Linked DNA regions of Homo sapiens: regions 1, 3, 4, 5 and 6 are each linked to region 2. Evidence: promoter capture Hi-C in human tissues and cell types (Jung and others, 2019). All regions are on one chromosome and are shown on one strand. Each heading gives the region's core, a stretch centred on a gene start or on the middle of the fragment in contact. The rest is flanking DNA. Distances are from core to core; before and after follow the strand shown.

What was found. The method cuts DNA at HindIII sites, captures the fragments that hold promoters and counts their contacts. A contact is called where the count stands out against the background at its distance.
Region 1: a fragment that was not itself captured here is called in contact with the fragment with the promoter of LGALS9 in region 2 in 3 of the 25 tissues and cell types used here (mesenchymal stem cells, mesendoderm cells and spleen).
Region 3: a fragment that was not itself captured here is called in contact with the fragment with the promoter of LGALS9 in region 2 in 2 of the 25 tissues and cell types used here (lymphoblastoid cells and thymus).
Region 4: a contact is called between a fragment that was not itself captured here and the fragment with the promoter of LGALS9 in region 2, in 1 of the 25 tissues and cell types used here (spleen).
Region 5: the fragment with the promoter of KSR1 here is called in contact with the fragment with the promoter of LGALS9 in region 2 in 2 of the 25 tissues and cell types used here (H1 embryonic stem cells and heart left ventricle).
Region 6: a contact is called between a fragment that was not itself captured here and the fragment with the promoter of LGALS9 in region 2, in 4 of the 25 tissues and cell types used here (aorta, ovary, spleen and 1 more).

Annotation. Positions count from the first base shown.
Region 1 is chr17:27,394,149-27,397,395 of GRCh38, reverse strand. No RefSeq gene overlaps it. Among named protein-coding and RNA genes, the nearest start is that of KSR1, 61 kb to the left of the region's middle. The HindIII fragment of the contact is 3,243 bases long and covers 277-3,247 here.
Region 2 is chr17:27,629,601-27,632,532 of GRCh38, reverse strand. It overlaps LGALS9 (galectin 9), which reads right to left and starts at 1,345. Exons shown (of 11, transcript NM_009587.3): 1 at 1,229-1,345. The coding sequence starts at 1,267. RefSeq lists enhancers at 1,316-1,435, 903-1,720. The HindIII fragment of the contact is 14,549 bases long and covers 1-2,932 here.
Region 3 is chr17:27,816,816-27,820,131 of GRCh38, reverse strand. No RefSeq gene overlaps it. Among named protein-coding and RNA genes, the nearest start is that of NOS2, 18 kb to the right of the region's middle. RefSeq lists a promoter at 2,868-3,316. The HindIII fragment of the contact is 5,954 bases long and covers 1-3,316 here.
Region 4 is chr17:27,474,865-27,477,998 of GRCh38, reverse strand. All of the region lies in intron 1 of KSR1 (kinase suppressor of ras 1), which reads right to left. Among named protein-coding and RNA genes, the nearest start is that of KSR1, 20 kb to the right of the region's middle. RefSeq lists enhancers at 642-936, 2,085-2,598. The HindIII fragment of the contact is 6,136 bases long and covers 1-3,134 here.
Region 5 is chr17:27,454,948-27,458,001 of GRCh38, reverse strand. It overlaps KSR1 (kinase suppressor of ras 1), which reads right to left and starts at 1,554. Exons shown (of 21, transcript NM_001394583.1): 1 at 1,128-1,554. The coding sequence starts at 1,358. RefSeq lists silencers at 695-744, 1,265-2,024 and an enhancer at 1,388-1,889. The HindIII fragment of the contact is 18,960 bases long and covers 1-3,054 here.
Region 6 is chr17:27,491,985-27,494,904 of GRCh38, reverse strand. All of the region lies in intron 1 of KSR1 (kinase suppressor of ras 1), which reads right to left. Among named protein-coding and RNA genes, the nearest start is that of KSR1, 37 kb to the right of the region's middle. The HindIII fragment of the contact is 3,331 bases long and covers 1-2,920 here.

The DNA of each region.
Region 1 (3,247 bases), core at 649-3,148, 240 kb after region 2:
TGTATGGCACTGTGCAAAAAGCTTGGCTGTTTTTTATACCATTTTGTACCATCCTTTTGTGAGTTGATTGAATCAATAAAGTCCAAAGGAATGTCCAAATGTTTTCACTTTGTTGAAATTCTTTGTACTAGATTGCATGCAATATAAGCAAATCCTTGCCTTGGGCCTGAAATGCTCTCTGTTTCACAGGAATTTTAGGCTATTTTGGGAAAATGTGGAAAAGGAAGTGGCCCACATGCATCTCTTTTTTGCTTGCTTGCAAGTTTCTCAAGAGGGAAAGCCTGTGGTTATACAGTGGTCTGACTGGTTCAGCACCACGTGGTTTGGAAGGGCTGGATCACAGGGGAAATGAGAGGCAGTGGAGAGGAAAGTGGAAAAGAGAATCCTAATTCTCCACATGTAACTTATGGTGCTAGGAAGCATATTCAATCTCTTGGATCTTCAGTTTCCTCATCTATAAAATTGAAGTAATAAGTATCTTTCTTCTAAGATGGTAGGGCAAATTGAATGAATAAGATACCATGAGCAAGCTTCTGGATCACTGGTTGTGTGCTGCAGAGGGCATTCTGGCCTTGTTGGAGGAGAGTTTGGCCCACAGCCCTCTTATCTGACTTGCGCCTCTGAGACTTAATATTCCCAGTCTCCACAAATACCAGGAGAGAGACACAGAGAAGCTGCACAGCTAGATTCCTGCTGAGGACCTGTCTTACTCTGTGCTGCTGTAACAAAATACCTGAGACTGGGTAAGTTATAAATAACAAAATTTATTTTTTCACTGTTTTGGAGGCTGGAAATACCAACATCAAGGCACCAACATTTGGTGTCTGGTGAGGGCCTTCTTGTTGTGCCCACACATGATGGATGCGGAAGGGCAAAAGGATCCCAACTAGTTCCCTCCAGCCCTTTTAAAGGACACTAATCCCATCCATGATGATGGAGCCCTCAATGGCCTAATCACCTCCTAAAGGCCTCACCTCTTATTACTGTTGCATTGGGAATTTAAGTTTTAACATGAATTTTGGAGGGGACACAAGCATTCAAATTATAGTAGGGCCCCAAAGAACCAGCCAGCTTCCAGGCCAGCTTGGCTCAGCCCTGTGGGGACTTTCTCAACACTTGCTTCTATTTTTGCCTCATCCTGCTCCATGTTTTGCTTCCCCTTCCCCTCTGCCCTCCTTGGCTCTGGCCGTGGGAAGCCAAATGCAGCCTAGGCAATGAGGGAGGCTAAAGGCTAGACAATATCACAAATGGGCCATTGCTGTTTCTGCTGTTGTTTCTTTACTCAGTCTAGGTGTTTGTTTTTTCACCATTATTATTTCATCTTCTAAGCCTATTCAGAGGCTACTAGAAGCAGCTGGAAAATCAGTTCTGGGAGACAGACTCTTAAAACAGGCATAATTTACCAGGAGAATTTATGTGTGAGATTCAGCCAAAAAGATTTCCATGTTCTACAAATGGATGTCTGTATGGGGAAAAAAATGAACCTTCACTCCACCTTACATCATACACATTTTTTTAAGAGACTGGGTCTTACTCTGTCCCCCAGCCTATAGTGCAGTGGCACAGTCATAGCTAATTATAGCCTAGAACTCCTGGGCTCAAGCAATCCTCAGTCTCCCAAGTACCTGAGACTACAAGAGTGCACCATGCCCAGCTAGTCTTTTTAAAAACTTTTGTAGAGACAGGGTCTTGCTATGTTGCCCAGGCTGGTCTCAAACTTCTGGCCTCAAGTCATCCTCCTGCCTCGGCCTCCTAAAGTGCTGAGATTACAGACATAAGCCACCATACCTGGCCTATATATAAAAATTAATTCAAGATGAATCACGGATCTACATGTAAAAGTAAAAACATACGGCTTCTAGAAGAAAACAGAGAATAACTTCTTGACTTTGGGGTAACCAATAATTTTCTTAGACAGGACACTAAAGCATTACCCATTAAAAAGAAAGGATAAATTTGTCATCATTGAAAATAAAACCTTCAAAAGACATAATTAGTGAGCAAAAAGACCCATCAATTTTTACTGGGAGATTGAGAGAAAATATTCACAGCGGTATATCTGACAGAGGACTCATATCCAGGACATATAGAGAACTCCCACAAATCCATAACAAGAAGACAGACAATCCACATTCAAAATGGGCAAAGGACTTAACCAGACATTTCTCAAAAGAAGATACATAAATGGCCAATAAACAGATGAAAATGTGCTTGACATCTTTAGTCATCGGGGAAAAGCAGATTAGAACCACAGTGAGTTGCACTTCATATCCTTGCACATGGCTAAAAGGAAGACTGACAATTTCGAGCGTTGGGTAGATGGAATACTGCTCTATGACAAAAGAAAGGAATTACAGCTAAATGTGATGACATGGATGACTCTCCAAAGCATTCCATGCTAAGTGAAAGAAATCTTATGCAAGAGGAGGTGGAGCAAGATGACCAAATAGAGAGTTCCACCAATCATCTTCCCCATAGGAACACCAAATTTGAACAACTATCCACACAAGAAAGCACCTTCATGAGAACCCGAAAAAAACTCTCAAAAAACTTGGTATAGAAGGAACATACCCCAACATAATAAAAGCCATATACGATTAAACTACTGCTGGTATCACACTAAATGGGGAAAATCTGAAAACCTTTCCTGAAAGATCGGGAACACGACAAAGATGCCCAATTTCACCACTATTATTCGATATAGCCAGTCCTAGCTAGAGCAATCAGACAAGAGAAAGAAATAAAGGGCATCCCAATTGGAAAGGAAGATTGACGAATACCCTTGTTTGCAGATGATATTTGGAAAAACCTAAAAGACTCCACAAAAACACGATTAGAACTGAAAAACAAATACAAATTCAGTAAAGTTGCAGGATACAAAAGTCATGTATCATATGCAACATACGAAAGTCAGTAGCATTTCTAGATGCCAACAAAAAACAATCTGAAAAAGAAATCAAGAAAGTGATTCCAATTATAATAGCTACAAATAAAATACCTAGGAATAAACTTAACCAAAGAAGTGAAAGATCGCTACAATGAAAACTTGAAACCGTTGATGCAAGAAATTGAAGAGGCCACAAAAAAATGGAAAGATATTCATGGATTGGAAGAATCAATATCTTTAAACTGTCTATACTGCCCAAAGAAATCTACGGATTGAATGCAATCCCTACCAAAATACCAATGACATTTTTCACAGAAATAGAAAAAACAATCCTAAAATTTATATGGAACTATAAAAGAC
Region 2 (2,932 bases), core at 96-2,595:
CTCTGTGCAGGTCCTACCTCAGGGGCCTCCACAGGGTGGCTGAGGTGTCATTGGTGACAGCCAGGAGGAAACAGGCCTCCTTTCCCCATTCTTTCTCTCTGGAGTTTAGAAAGCAGAGCCGAGCTCTGCAGACCAGAACGTAGGCAGCCTCATTCTGGACTCAGTGTCACCAGGGGGCACTCAAGCCCGACCCTGGCCTCTGCTGAGGTGGGCCATGGCAGCTTCCCTCCCTCAGTACCCTGCCTCTGCCCACCCTCCCCACCCTGCCTCCCCACCCAGGAAGGACCCATCAGCCCACCCTCTCCAGCCCCTCGGGAAGCTCTTTGCCAAGGCGGGGTGAGATCCTATGACAGGAGCCGGCCCAGGACACAGTGACCCCTGAAGTCTCCTGGGCTCCTGGGGCTGCCACTCCCATCTGGAGGCATTTGGCAACTGGCCTCTGCCTCCCTGAGCCTCAGATTTTCCGTGTATGAAGGGGACTCATAAACCTCACAGGGTTTCAGCAAGGCACCTGCCGCCCTCTGACCCCACGCTGCAGGGACAGTCCTCACCCCCCTCTCACCTCTGAGACTGCCCCTCCACAGATGCCCTGAACATGCCCATGCCCAACCTTCAGAGCACAGACACCTCCTCGGGAGGTCTTCCCTGCTGCCCTCAGACACCCAATAACATGAAACACTCCCAAAGCACCTACAGTGTGTCAGGCACTGTTCAAACACACTAGATACACTACTTCCTTAATCCATATCCCAACCCTGGGAGTGGGGGGCTCAAGTATTATTCCCACTTCACAGATATGGAAACTGAGGCCCAGAGACCACCAGCCAGTAAATAGCTGGACCCAGGGAGGCCACCTTCACAGTAAGCACCCTTAACTACCATGCCGGGTAGCGTCCTTACTGTCCCAGAAGCGTGCTTGCTTCCTCTTTACATGAACCACCCCGCTCTACATGTCTTCCCCTGAGCACACAGGACAGGACAGGACAGGACAGCTCAGTCAACACTGTCAAAGCCATGACTCGTGGGAAGGAGCATCCCTCCAGGCATGAGTGAGCTCAGCACGGCACAGGTGTGCCAGGATGACCTCCTCTGATATTTCTGCCCTGCTTGTGTTCTCTTTGGGATGCCCCCACCCCCATCCCCTGCCACCCAGGAGTTGCTTCCTCAGAGCCCCAGAGCTGTGTCCCTCTGGCTGAGGCAGCCCTGTGCCCATAGCCCTGGAACTCACTGGACTCAGGTAGGGAGCCTGGGAACCGCTGAAGGCCATCTCTCCGCCGCCTCTGTGGCCACCGCTGCCTTTCACACCCACTAGGAAGTCCTTTGTAGAGGGAACGACTTAACAAAGAAATAGAAACCAAAGCAACTTGGCTGTTATTCAATGGGGAGGAGCCGGCAGCAAAAGGAAGTGGGTCCAGAGAGAGAAAGGTATGGTACTGGGTGGACTGGGGTGACACTCACAGAGGGAAGTAGGCACTCCCAGCCCCAGTGACCTTTCCCTCCTCCCTCTCCTGTGCTCAACCCAAGCCTGAAGCATATTTGGTTCATAGAGGTCTACAATGCTTGACCACACTGACATGACAGCAAGTTGCCAGATGACACTGCCCAGAAGTATGTGGCTGTGTGTCCTAAGCATGCTTGGCCACGGAGTCCAGAAAATAATGGGGCTGGGCATTGCCTGTGCACAGGGTGCTTGTGGGGAAGGGCGGCTTCAACCCATTTTACATACAGAGAAGCTGAGGCTCAGAGTCTAAGGGGCATGCCCCAGGTCACACAGCTAATTCGTGGCCGCCTGAACTTTATGAAGATTCTCAGACTCTTCAAAAAGTATTTCTCCTGTTTAAATTTATATTATTCATGTAAAAACATAATTATGTAGAGGGGAATATTTTGCAAGAAAAACACCATAATGAATATTTTTATTCTACAGTATGGGGTGCCCAGGAGCTTCTGATCCTCCCTCTCAATGAATCTCTCTTGATTCTCTTCTCCTTCTCTTCTCCATCCTTATTTTCTGCACTTTAGGATGAGGAGAGAAGTCTTGGACATGATAGAACATTTCAAGTGACATGGGGCTGGGAAGGAACATATGGCATGTGCAGGTCGTGGGGGAGGGAGCCATGAAATAAACTTACCTGAAGTCGACCAGGTCCCAGCGATGTGCTGGTGAGAAGGCCCAGAACTCAAGCTGGGTAGGGTAAGTGCTGGCAGGTAAGGGCTGTACGGGTGCGAGAGGATGGCAGGTGCCCCAGGGCCATACGTGAGTCTGCACCTCTCTTCCTTCCTGTGCTCCACCTAGATGCACTAGAATTTGCAGACTAATTCCTTTGAGATGCTCCAATAGACTGAGGCCATGTGTGCCATCTGCACTGTCCATCCCCATTATGTTCCTGGATCAAGTACCAGTTTAAGGAGTAGACAGTACAAGGGGAGCAGAAAGGAGAGAAAGGAAGGGAAATTCTTTGCGATCCTCTCGGACACCAGGGACAATTTCATCACGGCACATCATTTGTAGGCAATCACAAATTGATTGCGATACGCAACAACTGGAACTCTCATTCACAGCAGACTGGAGTGTAAAATAATCCAACTTAGAAAAATGGGCAGGGCGTGGTGGCTTATGCCTATAATACCAGCACTTTGAGAGGCTGAGGCAGGAGGATCACTTCAGCCCAGGAGCTTGAGACCAGCTCGGGAAAGGTTGGAAGACCCTGTCCCTACATATAATTTAACAAACAAATTAGCCAGGTGTGGTGGTGCACACCTGTGGTCTCAGCTACATGGGAGGCTGAGGTGGGAGGCTCACTTGACCCCAGGAGGTCAAGGCTGTAGTGAACCCTCATCACGCCACTGCACTCCAGCCTGGGTAATAGAGCAAGACTCTGTCTCAAAAAATTGAAAAATAAAAAATAAAAAGAAAAACTGCTTGGTGAGT
Region 3 (3,316 bases), core at 247-2,746, 190 kb before region 2:
CCATTTAGGTAGGTGCATCGTGGTATCTCATTGCAGATTTTAATCTGCATTTTCCTCAAGATGAATGATGTTGAGCACCTTTTCAAATGCTTGTTGGTCACTTGGATATTCTCCTTTGTGAAGTAAGAATTTTCTAGTATTTCTAAACATTGAATTATTTGTCGTTTTCTTGTCTTTTTCTTGTTGATTTATAGAAGTTTGATATATATTTTGGACACAAATGCTTTGTTAGATATCAGTCCACAGTTTGCCTTTTCACTTTTTTTTTTTTTTTTTTTTAAGACAGGAGACAGAGTCTTGCTCTGTTGCCAAGGCTGCAATACAGTGGCATGATCTTGGCTCAGCTCACTGCAACCTCAGCCTCCTGGGCTCAAGTGATCCTCCCATCTAAGCCTCCCAAGTAGCTGGGACTACAGGCATCCACCACCATGCTTGGTTATTATTACTTTTTTTTTTTGTAGAGATGTTGTCTCACCATGTTGCCCAGGCTGGTCTCGACCTCCCGGGCTCAAGCAACCCTCTTGCCTCAGCCTCCCAAAGTGCTAGGATTATAGGTGTGAGCCCCACACCTGGCCACTTTCTTAATAATATCTTTTAATGAAGGATGGTTTTTAATTTTAATGAGGTCCAATTTAACAATCTCTTCTTTATGGTTAGTGCTTTTTGTGTTCTGTTTAAGAAATCTTTGCCTGCCCAAAGGTCATGAAGATATTCTCCTGTTTTCCTCTAGAAGCTTTATTGCTTTACTTTTCACATCTAGGTTTATGATCTGTCTTAATTCCTTTTTCTGTTTGATTTGAGGTAGGAGTCAATGTTCATTATAGTTCATATAAAAATCCAATTGTTCCAGTACCATTTAGTGAAAAGACTATCTCTCCCCCATACATAGTGATAGGAAGGCTGCATTTAATGTCGAGCTCTAGTCTTTAAATGGAATCTGAACACCTGTAGTGTTTTCAAAGTCTCTAGACTATGGGTCAGGAGGAAGAAATGAAGGGGAGTGGGTCTAGATGCTCTAGGCATCTAGCGTCATCTGGCGTCATCAGCTCTAAAATGAAGGGCATCCAGGGAAAGGAGGTTGATTCTTTCCATCTGTGGAGTTCTCTGACTTTGTAACACAGAGTATCCATTAGGCCTCAATTTTTCAGCTGTTGCTGGAAAAACCAGAGATTTCCAAGAAGCTACCCTTGGGAAAAAGAACCCAGCTTTGCATTTTAAAATGTTTTCATTACTCTTCATATCGCTCAAGCCAAATTTTGCTTCCGGAGGAAAACAGGCTCTAAACCATGAAAGACTAAGTAAGCCAGTGCTAGCAGCAGCAGTAACTGGGGAAAGTCCTGTGTATTTCAAGACCAAGAACTGTTTATTTCTGTCAGTGAAAGAGAAAGGGTGACCTGGCTCAGGTTTTGAAGACATCAGACTGTGGGCTAATATTTTCCAGACAGATGACTACTGTCCAGTGCTTTCCTGGACCACTCCCCAGGGCCTGCTCTCTGGCTACGTGAGCCTGGGCAGCCACTCTGCATCTGCAAAAGGCAAAAAAGCAGCTTTTGTGTACATCACACTGATTTCTGGCACTGGATGTTGGTTTTTTTCCCCCACCATTTCCAGAGTGGGAACAACTTGTGTGGGTTTGGACTTGGCTGATGGGCACCGAGCCAGGGAGTGGGTGTGGAGGTAGGGCCTTGGCCCTCAGGTTGATGCTGGAGGAGTATTTCATTCCCTGACTCGGGGTTTATTCCTGAACACCCGGAGTCTGTGGGGAAGCTGCGCCTGGGAATAAGGCACCTTCGGATCTGTGGGCTGTACTATCCCGGGATTATCCTTGGAGTCTGCTCTCTTTGGAAAGCAATAGTAATTGCAATTAACAAAAATTTCTTCTCTGCCTTATTAATCAATGCATTTGTCCAACAGATATTTATTGAGGCAGGCACTATGCATAGCACTTATACATCCATAAGCAAAACAGACAAAAATCCCTGCTTTTGTGGGGCCTTCATTCTAGTGAGGAGAAACAATGAACAAATAGTAAGTAAATGATGTAAGGTGTGAGGTTGAGCTCTGGGGGAGATGCACAGAGCAAGGTGGGGGGGTCAGGAGGGTTGGGGGAAGGAGGGCTGTCATTTTAAATAGGGGTGGCAAGGCTGGCCTCAGTGAGGAGGTGACACATGAGCAAAGACTGGAAGTGCAGGGAAGTGAGTCATGTGTTATCTGGAGGAAAAGTTGTCCATGCAAAGGAAACCTCTGTGGAGGTCTCAAGGCTTTGTCTCACCCCAAGATTAGGCAAATTCTAAATCTGAAGCTTAAAGGAGTAAAGAAGAAACTCCCTCCTTCCTTCTGCACATATTGATTGAGTGCCTGCCACATACCAAACACTGTCACACTCTGTGGTTCTCCTCGAACAGAGAAACAAAGGACGGAGGACTCTCCAGGCCTCTCAAAACAGAATTTGGACATCTTCAGAAATGCCCCCAGTGTGGCAGGCCAGATAGGAATTTAGTGATAGATTAAGTCTCTCTCTAATATTAGAACCTCATAGATATCCCTGAAATGAAATGAAATTGTAATGTGTTCACTCCAACTATTTTTATTTCATCTCAACTAACCCCTATCTTCTGAGGTTTTGATGGGCATTTTAATTAAATCATGAAGAGCCCTTTGTCTCCCGAGAAGGGGGATTGAAGCCTCTCCATCCCTCCGCCTCTCTCCTACCCTGAGTGCTAAGGAATGTGCCTTGTTCTCAGCAGGGTGTTGGGGTGGCAGGACCCAGTTCTGGACACAGCCTTCACCCCAAATCCTACTCCCAAGATCAGAAGGAATCTTCCCAGGAGAGAAAGCAGCAGCCACTCCCAGATGGAGCAGCTGCTGGATCCTGGGTACTTGATAAACATCACTGAAAACAACTTGCCCCCATCCTGTGTGTCTATGCATCCTCTCTGCCCTGGCCTGTTGTAAGCAGCTGTGAACCTTCCCATCATTACACTTCAACTTATGGTTTCCTAACATGATGGGCCAGATCTGTCTGTTGCTGTGCTGAGAATAATCTTGCCTGATTAGTCCATGCTCACATTTCTATAAAGAAATACCTGAGACTAGGCCGGGTGCGGTGGCTCATGCCTGTAATCCCAACACTTTGGGACGCCAAGGCAAGTGGATTACCTGAGGTCAGGAGTTCAAAACCAGCCTGACTAATATAGCGAAACCCAGACTTTACTAAAAATACAAAAATTAGCCGGTGTGATGGCAGGCACCTGTAGTCGCAGCTACTCAGGAGGCTGAGGCAGGAGAATCGCTTGAACCCGGGAGGCGGAGGTTG
Region 4 (3,134 bases), core at 517-3,016, 150 kb after region 2:
CGCCTTGTAATCCCAGCACTTTGGGAGGCCAAGGCCTGCCTTGGCCTCACTTGAGACCAGGAGTTCAAGACCAGCCTGGGCAACATAGTGAGACCTCATCTTTACAAAAAATAAAAGAATTAGCTATGTGTAGTGGCGCATATCTATAGTCCCAGCTACTCAAAAGGCTGAGGCAGGAGGATTGCTTGAGCCTAGGAAATCGAGGCAGCAGTGAGCTGTTATTGCACTACTGCACTCCAGCCTGGGTGACAGAGTGAGACCCTGTCTCAAAAAAAAAAAAAAGAAGAGAACAGGGAACTTCCCCTGAAGCATCTGGCGTAGAAGTGGAGGGGCTATGATGGCATTCTGGGAGGGATGGGCCGGAAGTGGAGCAGGAGGCAGACAGGGGTCTATACATCACCGTTTTCCCTATGTAGACAGATTTTTAACTTGTACCACCCCACAGTCCAGTGAGCTGTGACAAAGAAACTGCAAAGGTATGGGCTTGGTCATCAGCCAGACTACAATTCTAATCTCAGCCTGTCACCACTGGTGTGCCCTCAAGAGTCTAACTCACCTCTCTGGGCTTCAGTTCCCTGTATAATAGGAGGTAAGAACGAAACTCTGGTGTTTCCAGGGCAGCTAGAGGTGTCAGAGGCATGTGAACCAGAGCAACTCCGTCTTAAACAGGAGCTGGGTTAAATAAGGCTGAGAGCTAACAGGCTGCATTCCCAGATGGTTAGGCACTTTAAGTCACAGGATGAGACAGGAGGTCAGCACAAAACACAGGTCATAACGACCTTGCTGATAAAACAGGTTGCAGCAAAGAAGCCAGCTAAAACCCACCAAAACCAAAATGGCCACAAGAGTGACCTCTGGTTGTTCTCACTGCTACACTCCCACCAGCGCCATGACACTTTACATATACCATGGCAATGTCAAGAAGTTACCCTGTATGGTCTGAAAAGGTGAGGCATGAATAATCTACCCTTTATTTAGCATATCACCAAGAAATAACCATAAAAATGGGCAACCAGCAGCCCTCAGGGCTGCTCTGTCTGTGGAGCATCCAGTCTTTTATTCCTTTACATTCCTAATAAACTTGCTTTCACTTTACTCTATGGACTTGCCCTGAATTCTTTCTTGCATGAGATCCAAGAACCCTGTCCTGGGGTCTGGATCGGGACCCCTTTCCTGTCATGGAGGGGACTGGTGGGGTACAGTATTCCCAGTGCTATCTGAGAGCCCAGAACATAGACAGCAGGCCTTACATGTGTGCTGCAGTTACAAATGTCCTCATCGCCACCACCCTCATCCAAACAGCCAGAGGGCTTTTCTCAGAGTGGGGGCAGTGGGACCATCTGTGGCTGTCTAACATTTCAGTCCTTCTGAGTCAACCATGGGCTTCCCAGGGCACATCACGGGCAATGTGGACCCTGTGAGTGTTGGGCACCCAGGAGATGAGCCCACAGCTGCGGTCTCCTTCCTGGGGCAACCTCTCATACCAACGGCACCACAGTCAAACAGGCAGGGGCGCTCCCTGAGAAGATGGGATCACAGCTCACCGGCAGCGCCCCAGCACTGCTCAAGTCCCAGCAGCCAAGACTCAGGGAGCCCTTTTGGTGCCAAGCCAGCTCTACCCCTGAGTTCTCTACCCTCAGGAGGGGGTGGCAACTCTGGAAACTTCCCTGTTTCTCAGCAGAATCTGGGACTGGCTCAACAAGCGCCCTGCAGAGAACCTGGAGGACCAACTCTCCGTTTTATTCCAGAAAGTTTGAATTTTGCACCACTTCATTAGCCTTCAATCCTTGAGCGCTGAGAAGGGGTGGGGGCTCAAGAATCGCTCACTGAGCATGGTCCCCCCGGGGCAGGAGCCGTGCAGTCCAGTCCACTGCTCTACCCAAGCACCTTCTCAGAGCCTGATAGCTAGGAGGTGCTCAAATATTCATTACTTTAATAAATGAAGGAATGCAATTATAGCAATAATAAAGGAATTTTTGCAAAAGAAAAACAGTCCCACCACAAATAACTCATTTCAATTTCACCTCTAGTTTTCCCCATATGCATACATATCATCACATATTTACAGGACTACAAATGCCACATACATGCAATCTTAAATACTGTGTATTTTTCCTCGATGTAACAGTATGAATATGCTCATGTTCTTACCCAGCCTCTGTCACTGACATCTGTGTGTGTGATGACCCACCCATCGCATGCTGTGCCATGGTCTGCCAAACCTCCCCTTACCACTGGACAGCTACCTTATTTTCATTTTTTTCTGTATTATGGATAATGCAAATAGCCTCATACATTCTGTTTTGCTTTTCTATTGCATTCTTGCCTCAGGAGGAACACCCCTGTAAGGATGGGGTGGACGGAAGGGCATCGCTGTCCCCGTGTCATAGATGAAGAGAGTAATACCGGGCAGGTGCCAGCATGATCTCCTGCCGTGGGAGCTCTGTAAAAGCTGCTGGATGAATAAACATGGCTCACCCACCTGACGCCCTCAGTGAGTGGCAGAGCCTCAGCCTGCCCCGGGCCAGCGCTCTGTCACCTGCCCACGCAGTCAGAAAGTGACTTTCTGTAAGTCAGTAGGTTAGTGTGCCAGCCCCAAAACTCCATTTTTTAGTAAGACATAAGTTTCAAAATCACCTGTGGATCCTACAGGATGGAGGCAGAGCCCACATAAACACAGCACCTCTCACCACCTTCTCTTCTCATTACTCTTCCCTCCTTCACACCTGTGCTCAGAGACCCGTGAGTGCAGTGGGTACTGGAAAGCAAGCACCTCCCTAAATGTCATGCCCAGGGCCCCTTGTGGCCTCACCCCTGGCCCCAGGGTTTTCCAACAACCCTGGTTCACTCCCCTTTGGCTTCCACATGAGCTCAGCTTCCAAAGCTCTTTTCCAGCTGTATCCCCATGGAGCCCTTCTCTACCCTTTTGAGGTCTTTACTCAAATATCACCTCCTCTGCAAACCCATCCTGACCCCTCACTTTAAATTATACCACCATCTAGGCACCCCTCCCTGCTTTCATTTTCTCCACAGCACTTTTACCACTTAACAGATAACACATTTTCCTTAGTGTGTGTGTGGTATTTTTAGGGATGGGAATCTTGCTATGTTGCCCAGGCTGGTCTTGAACTCTG
Region 5 (3,054 bases), core at 305-2,804, 170 kb after region 2:
CCTGGAGGAAGGATTGGTCTTGTAATAATTACCGCGATCACAGAGGGCCTTATGACAGCTGGCAGAGGCAATTAGCAATAAGGGGCGGGGGGAGGGTTTGGGGGAGGAGAAATTGAGGATCTAATAAAACAAAACATCCCCAGACCTGCAGGAGGCCAGATGTGGCAGGGCAAGATGGTGAGAGGTTCCTTCTTCAAGACGGGGCAGCTATTAACTGGTCTGACGTTTCACCGCCCCGTCCCTGGCCAAAATCACATTCAGAATCCACTAGTTGCCCTCATTTGTGTATGGACAGGGTGCCCCAACAACCCTCGGGCTGGTTTTTCCAAATCCTTCAGATACTTCCCCAGCTATAATTTGAGAGAGGAAGGCCCGCATATCTTATTTCTTCTTTACACTCCAGACTGTCTCCATCAGAACCCTTTAAACAGTTTCATCTTCCCACCAAAGGCTTGCTTCCCAGCATAATCCTTCCTAAGCCTAAATCCAATCTTTGGGGGGAAGCAGGGGGAGTCAGCGGGTAATTATTAATACATTTTAAGCAGCGAGCCTCCGTGGCAACGTGAAAGGAAAGCACCAAACGCCTGAATAACAAAAATGCAGTTTCAGCAACACTTTTTGAAAAGGCGGCAGACAAGACCTGAGAGGAGAGGAAAGGAAGGGACAGGACGGCGTCTGGGGCGTGAGGGGAACAGGGGACGGCAGGCCTGCGATCACGCTTCAGGGGAACCTCCTCCGTCACCCTGGCCCACGGGTGCTCGGCTCAGTCACACGGGGAAAAGTCCAGCTTGTGACTCGGTGGGACAACGAGTCCTGCGGCCCCGCAAACTGGAAATGGGGTGGGGGCGGAGAAGGGGGGAAAGGGGATGTCCGCGCGCAGCCCACCCCGCACGGGCCCCTCGAGCCTCCATCCCAGTTCCCACGACGCACCCGCCCCACAAATCCTGCCCAAGATGAGGGCTGGTCCCGGGTCCTCCGGCTGCCGCATCAGCGAGTGCAGGAGGGAGGGGAAGCCTCCAAGGGGGGCGACGCGGGCTCAAGGATGCAACTCGGCCAGGAGTACTGGGGCCCGGAGGGAGGTGTCCGGGCCCGCTCCTCGAGCCCAGCCTGGTCCCCGACCCACTTACCTCCAGGGTCCGTATCTCCTGCTGGGTGAGGTCGTTGGACACAGCGCACTTGGTGCGCAGCCCGCGCAGGCTGCCGATGGAGATGTCGATGAGCTTCTGGAGCTGCCCGCACTGCTGCAGCGCCCGGCTGGCCGCGGCCCCTGCGCCTCCCTCCGCGGCCGCCGCATCCCCCCCGCCACCGCCCTCCTTCTTCTCTCCCATCGCCGCCGCGCGCAGCGCTGCTCTATCCATGCCTCGGCATCGGGGCCGCGGCGGCCGAGGCTGGGAGCCCGGGGCGCGGGCGCCTCGGCAAGGAACCCCCGAGCCAGGAGAGCTGGACCAGGAGCGCCCCTCGGCGCTGCCCGAGCCGGGACGCCGGTAGAGCCGGCCGCTGAGTCTGCCGCTTCCACCCTCCCAGCCGCGGCAGCAAAGCGAAAGCCGCGGCGACCCGACGGCTGCGGCTCCCGGAGCCTTTAAGCGGCGGCGGGGGCTGGGTCAGGGCGGCCGGGCATGCTGGGACTTGTAGTCCACGCCGCGCACCTGCCGCCGGCCTCCGCCCTCGGGGCCCCGGACCGCGCCCGCGCCGCCCTCCCTGCCCTCCTCTCCCCTCCCCTCCCGGCGGCCGCGGCGAGGCAGGCGGTGAGGGCCGGCCCCAACCGGGAGCCCCGGGTGGAGCTGCTCCGCGCCAGCTCCTCCCCCAGGCGCCGAGAGTCGGGGGAGCAGCGTCTCCCCGTCCGCCTCCGTCCCCCACCCGGCCTAGGAGCTTCCCGCGACCCCCGGATGGGGCGGCGCCCCCTGGACGCCCGGCGGGTGTGCGTCCCGCAGTTCCTCAGCTGCAGCCCAGCCCTGGAAGATGGGGACCAGGGAGGTTCCAGGATTTGTATGTGGGTTTAGGGGCTGCCATCTAGTGGGAAGGGGCTTACAGCACTTCTGTAGCTGGCTCACAAAGCGCTCTACTCTGGACTGCCTGCGCCAAAACGATTGCTCAGGCTTGGAGAAAGACGAAGAGCTTTCTTCTGAACCACATTTACCTGCCAAAATAAGTGTCCCATTCCCCCGCCATTCCCAGCCCACCAAGCCAGCCCAGACACGGGGGACAGCACACTGAATTGTCGGTGGCTTCGGAGCAAGTGGCCAGGATTCAAATTCTGACTCCACCACGGTCTAGGGTGAGACTTTGGGCACGTTCGATTTCCAGTGAATGCCCGACTCTCCTCATCAAATAACTCTTTAATAGGGTTCCTATGAAGAATCAGTTAATACATGTACAGCACCTAGATTGATTACTGGCACATGTGGTCGCTGGATAAATGTTAGCAATTCTTACTATCTAACCTCAGATCTGAATGTGGCCCTGGACCCAGGTAGTGGCCATGGAGCAGTACAGTACTGCCAAGGACTGGTAGTCCTTTGTCCTCTGTGCATTTCTGTGCCTCCTAACCCAGCAATCAAGCCTTGCCCATCTGTTCACCCTCCTCTCCCATTAGTTCACCCCATGCGTTCTATTATCTGGCAAAACTGAAAAACCAAGTCTCTGATCAAAGCTCCCACACCTTCATGCTTTCGACATCTGTCAACCAGAAAAAATGTCTCCCCTCTCAATTTTCTCTTGTAAGCTGCTTGATTGCAGAAGCCACTAGCTATTGTACCCTCTTTATAGTGCCAGATACAGTGCATGGCACACAAGAAAGGCTCCAGCGTGCCTCAGGAGCTCTTTCAGCAGGTCCTATGGGATGTTTCTTTTACCTCTCAGGCCAGCCGAGGGTGTGTGTGTGTGTGTAGATAGACAGTTGTTTTTTTGGTTTTGTTTTTGTGTTTGAGGATGAGAATTGGACAGGAGGTGGGATCCAAACCTTGTAGACACTAAAACAATCAATAATGGATGGCAGTTTGTATTACACCTTCCTTTAATGTTTATATTACACCAGCCTTCGAAATAAATTAAGGG
Region 6 (2,920 bases), core at 365-2,864, 140 kb after region 2:
ACAGGGCCGCCTCCCAGGCACAGGGAGCCACCCAGCAGGCCACACTGAGTCAGCGGCCAGGGTCCAAAATTTGCTTCCTGGAGAACTTGGAAGGGACACCGCCCAATGGCACTCTCAGAGAAGCTTTCATTCTCACGACGTCAATGCTGAGAGGACTGCCAGGCTGATTGGGAAACAGCTCCATCAAGATTTTTTGTCTAGTTGGTTTTTAAACTGCACAAATGCCAGAAATCTCCTTCCTGCTCTCTACTGCTTTTAAATGTAAATCGAAAGACCTGTTCGTACTTGTCCCCGGAATCCCTAATATCGGTCCCTCTATTAGTCTCTGGGGAAACATTAACTCTGTTGAAGTCGAGGCAGAGGGGGCTGACACCCTGGGTCCATTTAAGGCACTGACCAGGCACGTGACCCTGGGTAAATCTGCCCCTTTCACTGGCTCTTTAAATGCAGCGGAAAAATACATTCTAGTTAATCTCACTCAGAGGCAAGCTTCCCAGTTACTGCCACCTGCTGTTCCCTTCCTTCCTTCCCACAGGCCTGAATGCTCACCTGCTTGGACTGCAAGACAAAACTGCACTTTACACATCTCTAATCTGGGTGCTTGCCCGCCTCTCCAGGAATAATTCCAGATACTCCACATATAGAATTACGCAACCACACGGCATTTCTCCTGCAAATTTCAAGTCTTTAAGGGCCATAAAAAAAATCATCTCCACTTTTTGTTCCTGGAAGCTCTTTGTAATTTTTTTTTTTAACCTGCTGTCAGACAGCGGAGTGGGAGAAGGAGACTTCTTCTGAATTCACAGAGACTCCCCAAGCATTTCTGGGCCTCTGCTCCAAACCACTGTGGACATGAAAGGCGGACATTGATGACAGCTGCTACAAACCACCTCAGCGTCCCCAAGTTTCTCTCTGGCCAGAGAGAGGAAGAAGTGGTGGAAAGTCCAGCCAATCACACCACAAAATGGGAGCCTCAGGTGCCTCAAATTAAAGGGAGTAAATTCAACAGCTAAACCTCCAAGGCTGAGGCAGAGGTTGTTTTGCTTTTTAAATTTTTCCCAGCAGCAGGCAAAAATCTCCAGCTCTGCTACTGAATATAACCAGTGCAATTTCCAATGGTCTCACGACCCCATTATTTCCTTTTCAGTGCCCCTCCCTCTCCACCATACCCCATAATTACAGAGAGTTTAGGGCTGGGCTTTTTCATGATGCTGCTTCTTTACACTCACGACAACACAGAAGGAAAGGTTATTTAAATCTGAGTTGGAAGGGTAAAATCAGCATTGTTAAAAGGGCAGATTAAGAACACATTTCCCTGGGTTTTAGGTAATTCAAGGTCACTTGCAATAAGCAAGACAGAAATGGAATCATCAGGCACACATGGGCAGTGGGGTCTACCGAGCACCACGGGGCAGGGTCACACAGGCCATAAACATTATACGGAGCTGATCGTTAATGTCTCTGACTTAAAAAATCTGCCCTGTTAAAGAATTCAAGGGCATGATTTCCTGCCTGACCCCGGTGTTTCACAGCCTTTGCCTCAGAATTGGAGCCCTTCCTGGTCCTCCAAAGCCCTCTCTGTCCTGAAAAGCAAGCTTACATTAATAACTAAGACTGAGGACTCCAGCTTCAGCATTTACTAACTGGGTGACCTTGGGAACATCATTCAACTTCACAAAGCCTCACTTTCTTCATTTATATGTATAAAGTGTGGATAATAATAGTCCCTTATTGCTTCATAGGGTTTCACGAGGATTAAAGGAGACTGGGGTTATCATGTACCTCACATAGTAAATTGCTCCATAAATGATCATCATCAGCAGAATGATGAAGGAACACACACTGCTTTGGGAAAGGCTGGCAATCCCAGTGCCAATGCTTTCTATGAAGTGGCATCTATAAAGTAAGATCATTCCCATTTCCCTCCCCGCATGGAATATATTTCCAGCAAAGACAAAAAGTAAGGCTGGGAATGCCAAGTACTAAGTGTATAACACCATTTAATGAGCACCTACCATGTGCCAGGAATTCAACCATGTTTTCACAAATCCTCATTACCCTGCAAGACAAATCCTGTTAGCCCCATTTTGTACATGGGGAACTCGGGCTCAAAATAAGTCCCACCTCCTCCCTATTCCAAGCCAACATCTATGGGCAGACAAGAGACAAGTCAACATCCACAGGTCTGCTTGGTGGCCAGCATGAAGGGATGGATGCCTCGAATTCCGGGGCTTTATCTAACTCATGGCTGCCTCCCTGCAAACAGCAAGTAGGGGCATATTACTCACAGAACATTCTAGAGCTGTGGAAGTCCACAGGACTCACCTCTTTTGATCCCCTGAGTTGGGAATGTTAGAAACTCAGCCCAAGCAAGGGAAGGGAAGCAGCTTGTCCAAGGTCACATGGCAGCTCAGACACAGAGCTGACATTTGGGCTCAGGTCTATTGACTCTCGAGGAAGATCTTGCCTATGGATGCCTGATCATTCCTAGAAAGGAATTCACGGGCACAAGAAACGAGCAGGTGTAACTTTGAACAGACCCAGTTTCAGAGCTCTGCAAAGGTGAGTTGAGGAGACTCCTGCCTTCCTCCCTCCCAAGTCTGACGGGAAAGCAAGGTCAACATGTGCTGGGTGGGCTGCCTCCAGCTTTGCTCACCCCTGAACCACAGCCTCTAAATGAACAGTGTTTAAAATTACTTTCCTAGAGCCTTCATGAATTTCTATTTTGAAGCCACCCACTCGTATCTGCTACACACACTCTCCTCGTCTCCTCCCTCCTCCCACCTCCCAACGTGCAACTAATCTGCTTGTCAGTACCGTCTGTCTCCAGCAAAGGCGTCCCATCAGGTGACTGACCCCTGTAAGTAATTAAAGAATGATCCCACAGCCTTGGTGGAGGCCGACGGAGAGAAGGGTGACT